Regions from separate parts of the Homo sapiens genome. Here region 1 is linked to region 2. The links are contacts of gene promoters, found by promoter capture Hi-C in human tissues and cell types (Jung and others, 2019). All regions are on one chromosome and are shown on one strand. Each heading gives the region's core, a stretch centred on a gene start or on the middle of the fragment in contact. The rest is flanking DNA. Distances are from core to core; before and after follow the strand shown. Region 1 overlaps DHX40 (DEAH-box helicase 40). Region 2 holds the start of YPEL2 (yippee like 2).

The links. The method cuts DNA at HindIII sites, captures the fragments that hold promoters and counts their contacts. A contact is called where the count stands out against the background at its distance.
Region 1: a contact is called between a fragment that was not itself captured here and the fragment with the promoter of YPEL2 in region 2, in 1 of the 25 tissues and cell types used here (spleen).

Annotation. Positions count from the first base shown.
Region 1 is chr17:59,605,080-59,610,186 of GRCh38, forward strand. DHX40 (DEAH-box helicase 40) reads left to right here. Exons shown (of 18, transcript NM_024612.5): 16 at 36-105; 17 at 367-595; 18 at 1,954-3,266. The coding sequence ends at 2,093. Among named protein-coding and RNA genes, the nearest start is that of CLTC, 12 kb to the right of the region's middle. The HindIII fragment of the contact is 7,902 bases long and covers 1-5,107 here.
Region 2 is chr17:59,330,179-59,335,234 of GRCh38, forward strand. It overlaps YPEL2 (yippee like 2), which reads left to right and starts at 1,477. Exons shown (of 5, transcript NM_001005404.4): 1 at 1,477-1,646. RefSeq lists a silencer at 1,243-1,762 and an enhancer at 1,973-2,534. The HindIII fragment of the contact is 13,001 bases long and covers 1-2,941 here.

The DNA.
Region 1 (5,107 bases), core at 529-3,028, 280 kb after region 2:
TTGTAGTCTTTATCATTTTGTTTTTCTGTTTATAGATCTGTTGGGAGAACGTTTTGCACAATGGATGGTCGTGGAAGCCCAGTTCACATTCATCCTTCCTCAGCAGTAAGTACTTCATTTTTAATAAAGGGAAGAAATTTGTAAAGTTGTAGAAATAAGTAATATACAAATGTCTTCTACTTTTCACTTTGGAGTTAAATTTACATATATCTATATTACATAGATCTATAAGGGTATTGGTTGGCCTGTGCCTCCTGTTTGAAGAAGATAGGAATTAATTGAGAAGGATTTGGACTATTTGGTTGGTTTAATGTGGAATAGGGCAGGTTATTGAGTTACCATCATTAAAAGAAATGTTTTGTATAGCTTCATGAACAGGAAACCAAACTTGAATGGATCATTTTTCATGAGGTATTGGTTACCACCAAAGTCTACGCAAGAATTGTATGCCCAATCCGTTATGAATGGGTAAGAGACTTGTTACCCAAGTTGCATGAATTTAATGCACATGATTTGAGCAGTGTGGCCCGACGTGAAGTGAGAGAAGATGCAAGAAGGAGATGGACAAATAAGGAAAATGTAAAGCAGCTAAAGGGTGAGTAAATCATTTGTTCTACTCTTAACCACTATGCCATACTGCTTCCCAGTAGTACTTCACTATTTTTGTTTATAAAAATGTTGTGACCCACCTGGGCAATGTGGTGAGATCCCATCTCTAGCAAAATAAAAATAAAAATTAGCCAGGCATGTTGGTGTGCACCTGTAGTCCCAGTGACTTGGGAGGCTGATGCAGGAGGATCGCTTGAACCCAGGAGTTTGAGGCTGCAGTGAACTGTGATTTCACCAGTGCACTCCAGCCTGGGGGTGACAGAGTGAGACACTATCTCTAAAAAAAAAAAAGTGATGATTTATGCATTATTAACTCAGAATCCCCTTTGTTTCCAAGGGGCTTTTTCTTTCTTTCTTTCTTTTTCTTTCTTCTTTGAGACGGAGTTTTGCTCTTATTGCCCAGGCTGGAGTGTAATGGTGTGATTTTGGCTCACTGCAGCCTCTGCCTCCCGGTTCAAGCTATTCTCCTGCCTCAGCCTCCTGAGTAGCTGGATTACAGGCATGCACCACCACGCCTGGCTAAGTTTGTATATCCAAGGGGCTTTTTCTATGAAATAATTAGGACCCTGGTTGGGAGGCATAAATAGTTGTGGTACTGAAATAGGACAGAAAGTTTTTCAGCTCACATACACAGAAAACTTCTTAGTAAAGCTTTTTGAGGCTGAATGATGAAGCATATTGTATTTTCTTTATTTGACATCACTGCAAAATGGAATGGTGAAGAGTTTTGCCGAATAAATCATAGAAAAATCTTTAGAAATGTTAGCCACTAGGGAGGCCAGGCATGGTGGCTCACGCCTGTAATCCCAGCACTTTGGGAGACCAAGGCGGGCGGATCACGAGGTCAGGAGATCGAGACCATCCTGGCTAACACGGTGAAACCCCGTCTCTACTAAATATACAAAAAACTAGCTGGGTGTGGTGGCGGGCGCCTGTAGTCCCAGCTACTCGGGAGGCTGAGGCAGGAGAATGGCGTGAACCCAGGAGGCAGAGCTTGCAGTGAGCCGAGATTGCGCCACTGCACTCCAGCCTGGGCGACAGAGTGAGACTCCGTCTCAAAAAAAAAAAAAAAAAGAAAAGAAATCTTAGCCACTAGGTGTTCTATTACAGTGTAATAACACTGCCACATGCTTGAATTAGGGTCAGTTTTTCTGACTCATTGGCCTTGGTGCTCTTAATTTTGTAACCATAGACTACATTGCTTTTGAAAGGGCAAAATTTAATTTTTCTCTTTATTGTTTTTACTTTGTTAACACTGAAAAATCAGGGCTTCTCTTTCTCTTAACATTTCTAGTACTGAATCTCAAAGCTAAGTTTTATTGGATTAATTTGTAATGTTTTCAGATGGAATATCGAAAGACGTCTTAAAGAAAATGCAAAGAAGAAATGATGACAAATCCATATCTGATGCACGGGCTCGTTTCCTTGAGAGAAAGCAGCAGAGGACCCAGGACCACAGTGACACACGAAAGGAAACAGGCTAAGGTGGTGAACCCTCCAATTCAGGAAGTGGGAAAAGGAGCCAGGAAATGTGCTTCTACTTTGCCAGTTATTTCAGACAGCACTACCAAGAGGAGGTGGTCAGCACTTGTTATTGGCCTATGAACTAAAAGCAAATCAAAGCTCATAAATCAAAGCTCATCAGTTCCCATAAATGCAGTTGTCAAAGAAAAGATTTGGTTGCCATAGTCATAAGCAATGATACATGAAACCAATGAAAGACAGTACATGTAATAATATTTTCCTCAGTACAATTTTGCTGGCCTTAACTGGTATCAAACGCTGTCATTGAGATGTTTTCAAAGAACATTGAGTTGTATTTAATCAGCGTGTACTCCATTTGCATTGAAGCATTAAAAATTATTTTTCTTAAAATCTCTTTAAGGCCTTCTTGTTGCTGTTAGAATAGTGCTATATATCAGGTATGTGACCATTTATTTCAGAAGGCTGAACATAAGAGGTTTCTACTCAGCAATACTTAGATGTCTAACTGTTTAATTGCTACAGAGCTTTATAGATATTTAGAGAAAAGACTTAATCAATTAGTAAATAAAATTGCCTATGGCAGGATTCTTTCTTGAATTAATATTAATCCTTAAATTGATTTTTCTGGGATTATACAAATTCCTTTTTATATAAAAGTATATTGTTTAAAACAGTAGCTATAGCCATTAACCAAAGGACAGATGATATATATATATATGATATATATATATATATAAGTTCTTTTTTAGCTGTACCTACGTACTTATATCAGCACCATGTATGTAGGTGTGATAGTACTTTCAAACAGCGCCTCCACCTGGCCTACTCTGTTATTTCCACCTGTTTGGGTAGGGCCATTTAACTTCCATTATGCCAAACTTGGGATGGGATTTTCGAAGCAGACAACACTATTTCATCGTGTTTCAAATTGGAACCTTGAGGCTAGTTAGTATCACACTCAGGCCACACTCAGCACTTGCCCACTCTTGTTTACTGCCTTGTATTCTAGTTATTTGTGTATTTGTCTCCCTCACTAGATTATACGCTCCTTGTGGGCAGGGACTGTGTCTTTTTTCATCTTTGTATCTTTCATGCACCTAGCATAGTGCTTTGCACATAGTAGTCACTCAGTGTTTGTTAAATAAAGCTATTAGTGTCATTAAAATTCAAAAGACAGTATAATGTGTGTTTTTAGATATTTTGTGTAAAAATTAAGAATCTAAATTTTTTATCGGTAACTCTTCTAGTTATTTCCTTTGGAATCTAGTTTTATGTTCAATAATAGAAACTTGAAATCTTTATCAAAAATCACAAGGACCCAAATTCATGTATTTGTCCCTAAAGTAAGGTGAGTGATGATGGTTTCTCTAAACCTTTCCAGTGTTTTAATTTGTTAATTTTTTTTTTTTTTTTTTTGAGACGGAGTCTCACTTTGTCGCCCAGGCTGGAGTACGGTGGCATGATCTTGGCTCACTGCAAGCTCCGCCTCCCAGGTTCACGCCATTCTCCTGCCTCAGCCTCCCGAGTAGCTGGGACTACAGGCATCCACCACTATGCCTGGCTAATTTTTTGTATTTTTTAGTAGAGACGGGGTTTCACCGTGTTAGCCAGGATGGTCTTGATCTCCTGACCTCATGATGCGCCCGCCTCTGCCTCCCAGAGTGCTGGGATTACAGGCGTGAGTCACCGCGCCTGGCCTAATTTGTTCATTTTTATCTTTAGTGCTCTAGACACTGTTATTAGCACATATTAATCATTTAGTTCTGTCAGTTTCTCTTCTCAGGTGTATTGTATAAGGGCATATCCTCAGATGTGGTGGGAGTGTGTGGATTCTTGGAATGAGAGCTCTTCTAGTTTAGTAAATATTAAGCATATATTCTGAATCTACACCTCACACTCAAATTATATCTGTTGTTTCAGTAATGTCCTTTATGGCATTTTTCTGTAGTTCAAGATTTAGTCTAGGATCACGTATTGTATTTAGTCTCTTAATCTGGAAAAAGTCCTCAGTCCTTGTCTTTCACAACATTAACATTTTAAAATAATATAAGCTAGTTATTTTATAGAATGTTCTCAATTTGGGTTTCTCCAATGTTTCTTCATGGTTATGCATTTTTAACTGGAATACTGCATAAGTAATAGTGTCATGGTATCACGTCTGGAGGTACATGGCATTTTCCCCTTGCTGGTGTTATTAATGTTAATTACTTATTAGGGTGCTTTTTAAATTATATCAACCTGGTTATCCTTATAATTCATAAATAATTTGAGGGAGAGATACTTTGACATTATATAAAATATCTCGTTCCTCATAAAATATGACATTTTGTATTTACCATCAATTGATGATTCTTGCCTGAATCCATTTTATTCTTATGGCTGCAAAATGGTGATTTTTTTTTCTAATTCTTTTCTATATTTGTTGGTATTATATTGTAAGGAAGAGTTTTCCTTGAAGGATGAATGTCTGATAAACGGGTGGGTGCTAAGAAGAGCATGGATCAAGACAGAGAAGTATTTATAGAAAGCCCAGGGGGTGTTTGAGATGGTGGCAAACAGTTGAGTTTACTTGGTGCATAGAATATATATAGGAGAGTAGGTGGCTCAAACTGTTAAGGTCAGATTACAGAAGGCTTTGTAAACCAATCTATAGAATTTGGAATTATTTTATGGATTTGTTAGAAGGGAAGGACATCATTACAGTTTTGGGATAATTGTGATAGTGTTATTGATAAAAAATTTCTGTATCTCAGTTTGCATTGAGAGGACTGTGAGAGCAGTAGTATCAAGGGAATGCTGGATCTAGTTAAGGCAAGAACATGGAAGCAGCCTTGCAGGAAAGGTGGGTTTTATGGAGGAGTTTGTTCTTAGAAGAATGGGAATACACCTTCAAGTTACTAAATGAAACAAAACAGAATCAAAAACAAATTTTTTTTTGAGACGGAGTTTTGCTCTTGTTGCCCAGGCTGGAGTACAATGGTGCGATCTCGGCTCACCACAACCTCGGCCTGCC
Region 2 (5,056 bases), core at 227-2,726:
CCTCTCATCTGAAAGCATTCCCCCCCCCCCCCCGTTTTAGACTCTCCAAACTAGTCAGTTGTGAACCAGGACATAGCCTTTGTTTACACTGAAACTGCAAATCTGAGGCTGATATGTCAGCCCCACAATACTGAGGTATTTGGGGTGTTTTGTTGTTTTTACTAACCTTGGTGACTGGATTCACATGCAATAGATATTAACTGAATACAATTTGGTTGACCAAGCATATTTTAAAAACAGCTGGGTGGAGATGCAGGTGAGCCAGCATTCTGGGTGTACGTGCAAACCAGTGTGTGGAAGGCGGAGAGTCAGCTGCACCTCCTGCAGCACCTCACATCCTGATGGCTGCACAGTAAAACACTAGTTTCCTTGGAGGAAGAGTTCCCAGAGGAACTGCGGAACCCCAGTGTCTTGAGCGAAAGGCAGGACCTGCTTTGTTCACCTTGTCCGTGCCAACATTCTTTATCAAACTGTCCTGTTTTCCTGCTGGGAAACTGCCCCACTCCACCCACCTGGTGCCTCCCTGGTTTCCTGACTGCCACGAGGTTATTTTTTAACCTGCTCTTCCTTGAAAAGCACCACCCCGGTGACCCAGAACGTGGACTCCTCCCCTCTGGTCACTCGGACCATCCCACTCTAATTACCGTCATCTGCCTCTGAAAGTCATGGAAAATTAGCAGCAATGGGGCGGTCTTCAATTCCACTAAGCCCCTTTCGTACTTTTAATTCGCCGAAATTACTAGCAGGGCAGAGAGAAGAGGGGAAATGCCTGGCTTCTGAGCAAGGCATGGGTGGGCTGGGTGCAACTAGCACTATCATTTTCTTTTAATTTTATTATTATTATACTTTAAGTTTTAGGGTACATGTGCACAATGTGCAGGTTTGTTACATATGTATACATGTGCCATGTTGGTGTGCTGCACCCATTAACTCGTCATTTAGCATTAGGTGTATCTCCTAATGCTATCCCTCCCCCCTCCCCCCTATCATTTTAAATTCAATTACCCGGGGCCTGAGGGCCACTTCTGGTAACTTAGGCTATGGCTTAGGGCGAGGTTTAAAACGTAAGAAAGGAATGACTATCTTGAGCCTCCAGGGAGATGCACTGCAAATCCCCCCGCCCCAAAATACAACCCAGGTTCTGGGAATCCCAGCCCTGCCCTGGGGACAAACCCCAAACTCAAATAAACGGCCTCCTCCTAGGCGCTGAGAGCCCACCCAGCTTTGGCACTCTGGGTCCCTGCCCTCCGGCAAGTTGCCGGGACGGGCGGGACCCTAACCAGCCGCTCTCCCCTAGCCCAGGCTGGGCCGGGCCGAGGGGTGGGGGAGTGGGCGGTCGGGGAAGCGGGGGGCGGAGTTCCGTCCTCTGATGATTGGCTCTGCGCGGATGGGCTGCGGCTGCGCCCGGCCAACCCGCGGCGTGTTGCTATGTGCTGAGCCGAGGGGATAGGTGCGGGGGCGCGTCCATCACGGGGTAGCCCCCGGCCCGGACCCGGAGGGATGCGGAGTGGCGGCCGCGGCGGTGGCGGAGACTGTGGCTTTAAGAGCGTGCCGGGAGCCCGAGCCCCAGCCGGGCCGCGCTTCGCCGCTGCGCACCCCAGCGGAGCCAAGCCCCACGCTGGCCGGACAGGGCCGCCTGTCGCCGGGTAAGTGCACCGGAGTGCGGCGCGGGCCGGGCGCGCGTGGGCGTGGGGCGCGCTGTCAGCTCGGGCTCTGGGTCCCCGGCCCCGGCCTCCGGACTCCCCCGGCCGGGCCTGCGCGGGGTTGGGGGTGCGGCGCCCTCGGTTCCGCGTGGGGTCCCCGTGGGCGCCGGGGACGGGGAGCGGCCGCCGGGCCACGTGACCGGTTTGTTTACAAACACTGCCGGGCCCGCGGCCGCTCGCGGAGGGAGCCCAAGGGCGCGGGACCCCCGGCCGGGGCGGGAGACGCGCGCCAGGGGCTGGGCGAGTCTGCGGGGCCAGGTTTGGGGCGGGGGTGCGGAGCTGGAATCGCCGCTTCCTCCTCCGCGTCGTCCCCATGGGTTCGGACTCCATGGGGTCCGGGTGGGGCTGGGGACGCCCTCCGTCCTCTCGTGACGCCGCGTTTCCCTCGGAGAGTCCTGGGGACACTTAGGTCCAGGGGCGCCGCCCTGGGGGCCTTCCACTGTGGGACTGGGCGCCCTCGAAATTTCTCGGAGCGCGTCGTCTGCCCCGACCCGGGTCGAGGTAACCGCAGCCGAGTTCCTCCCTGGCCGCGTCTCGGCGCCTCCCCGGTGTCCTTGCCAAGGGGGTGGGCGCGAGGTCCTGCCCGACGGAACGCGGGAGCCTCTGCCGCGAGCGCCTCCCCGGAGCTGGCGCTTAGGGGCGGCCCCGACCTTTCGCCACTTCCAGTTCACCCTGCTTGGCCGCCGACCTCCTCTGGTGTCTTTCCCGGAGTGGTGGGCTTTTCTCCGGTCTTGGGGGCGTGCGGGGGTGGGGGACACCTGTTCTTCTGGACTTCTTGTCCGGAAGATTGCTACCTCTGCCTTCAGTCTTAGCTGCGAGAGTTTAAAAAGCCAGGTGAGCGAGTGTCTTGTTTTCCTCCGCTTGGAGCGGAGCTGCACCCTCGCCCGCCCCCCAGTCCCGCCGCTGTGAAAGGCCCCAGAGAACTGCTCCGAAGCTTTGCTGGGGTTTTTGCTTTCTGGCCTCCTTGCTGATTTGCTGTCCTTGCAACTTGGGAGGCTCTTGAGTGAGTCCTTGCCTTTGGTGAATCTGAAGGCTAACGAGACAGCTGTCTTTTCCTCCCTGCCCTTCCTTCCTTGTTCTTCCTTGTTCCAAAGCATTGGGCAAGAAGGGTAGCGGTCAGCTTCCCTGTGCCTCACAGAGCATTAAAGATGCAAGAAGTTCAGTAAACCGCCTCACTGGCTCTGGGGTGGGACTTGATTTCACATGGTTATTGCTCCCCCGTGCTTTCCTGCCTCTGGGGGCCACAGGGCCTATGAATGGCTGAGTCTTGCCTCCGGTGAGGAACATTTTCATTCTTCTAAACTGTGTTTTGAGTGGCTGCAAGTTCTTTTCCCCAGAAACAGGCCCAGCCTGGGGAGAGCTGTGCAGACTTCCCCCTTGGCACCATCCCCTGTCCCCAGCTCCATGATAGGATCTCAGGCAGGAGTGCAGTGGGAGCCTCATCCGCTTCCTCAGTTGGGCTTTGCCGCCGCAGGTTAGCATTCAATGACAGCATTTCTTGGATCTGTCTTGATATTTCTGTGCTTGAACCAAAATCAAGAAGCTTAGAGTTAGGGGTGGAAAATGGAAAATAAACACCATGCGCGAGAAAACTGTTTTCCTTCTTCCCTCTAGGAGCATGGTTTTCAGACTTTGAGTGGGACCTGCACTGCATACAGGTCTGTAACTGAAATAAGTTTCAGAGAACAATAATTACCCTTACTCCCTGCAGTGTGCTCTGTTTTAAAGGTTTTTTTTTCTACTTCATTTAAAAAAATCAACTGCTGGTTATGACCCATTAATTTGATTTCCTGACCAAGCAGGTCCTGACCCATAGTTTGAGAAGCATCGCTTTAAGGCAGAGGTCCTCAAACTTAAATGTGTATAAAGATGACCTGGGTAGTGTTTAAAAATAGTTTGTCAGGCTACTCCGCAGATGTTTATTTTCAGTGGGCCACAGGAATCTGCATTTTTACCAGGGGACCTATGAGATTGTGATGCAGGTGCTTGATAAGAGCCCCTGATCTAGTGGGAACTGGAGGCAGTGAACAATGAAAGGTATTAACTTGGCTCTGAAGTGCAGTCAGGTATGTGACCCCATACTCTGCAATCCCAAAATCACTCAGCTGCCAATCACACTAGCTTAGGCTTTGAAAAGTCTAAGGGCACAGTATTGTTTGTTCTCAACTGCCATGAAGCAGTTGGCTTTAAGAGACTGGTATCCCTCCCTCTCCACTCCAGCCTGTTTGAGGGCTGCTGCACAGTGTTGTGTACCAGGAGATGTTTCTAGGTGTGTGGGGGTTGGAGATGTGAGTAGTGCCGATGAGTTGCGTGAGTTGCTGTGCTGTTCATAGATTATGTGAATTCTTCATTGTCGTAATGATTTTCACGGTTTTGAGGCAGCCACACAGTCATTGTGCCTGGGAGATTCACAATTGGCCAGCTGAAGAAGAGGTTGATTTTGTTTAGTATCCGTGTATTCCAGACTGCATAGCCTCGGGGGAAGGCAGGCAGGTGACTCTTTTTATTTGGGGGGGGGTGAGGAGTCAGGAGTTTGTCTACCATCAGGTCTTAATAAGAGGCACAAGTTCCCATACCTCCTGGGCTACCCCAGTCCTGGTTACTTCCCATTGTGATGGCCCAGTCCCTGTGTGCAGGCGAATCTTGTTAGGCATCCAGTTTCTGATGCTGTTATCTGCCTTCAGGCACAAACACACACACACACACACACACACACACACACACACGCCTGATGCAGCCACAGGTTAGATTTTTCCCTCTTAGTTATTGTGTCCAGACATATTGGTAGGATACATTTATTTGAATTAATGAAAGCTGCGATTTAGCTTCAAAAAGGACTCTATCCAAATTCAACTTCCACTGTAGCCCTTCTTGCTAAAGGTGTGCCTTATGGGAGCATCAAGCGTGGGATTTTAAAAATTAACTTTAATAATGTTCAGTTTGGCCAAGCAACTCACATTCAGAATGTTTAGTTTTGAGCATATGGAGAAAAGAAAGCAACAAAAGGATGGCAAGGGATAAGATGTCCCAGGATTGGAAAAGCCAGAAGGAAGAGATGTTGAAGTGAGATTCAGATGGAGGATGTGATCAATTCCCATTGTAAATTACCTTGGCATTTCCTTAGGGTTTGTCAGGCAAACCACTAGGTGCTCTGACAACTGCATTCCCCTGAGCATAAAAAGGTATAAAGTTTTGGAAAAGGAAGAAGCATCATTTTCAACTTGAGCCTGTAATGATGGAAAGCCAGCCAGGGCCTGCAGGCTAAAGATATTTTTTAGAGTTGTTAGTTTTCAGTGACATTGTCCTTAACAAAAGGTGATACACTTGAGTCTGTGAAGTATTGTACTGCCTGA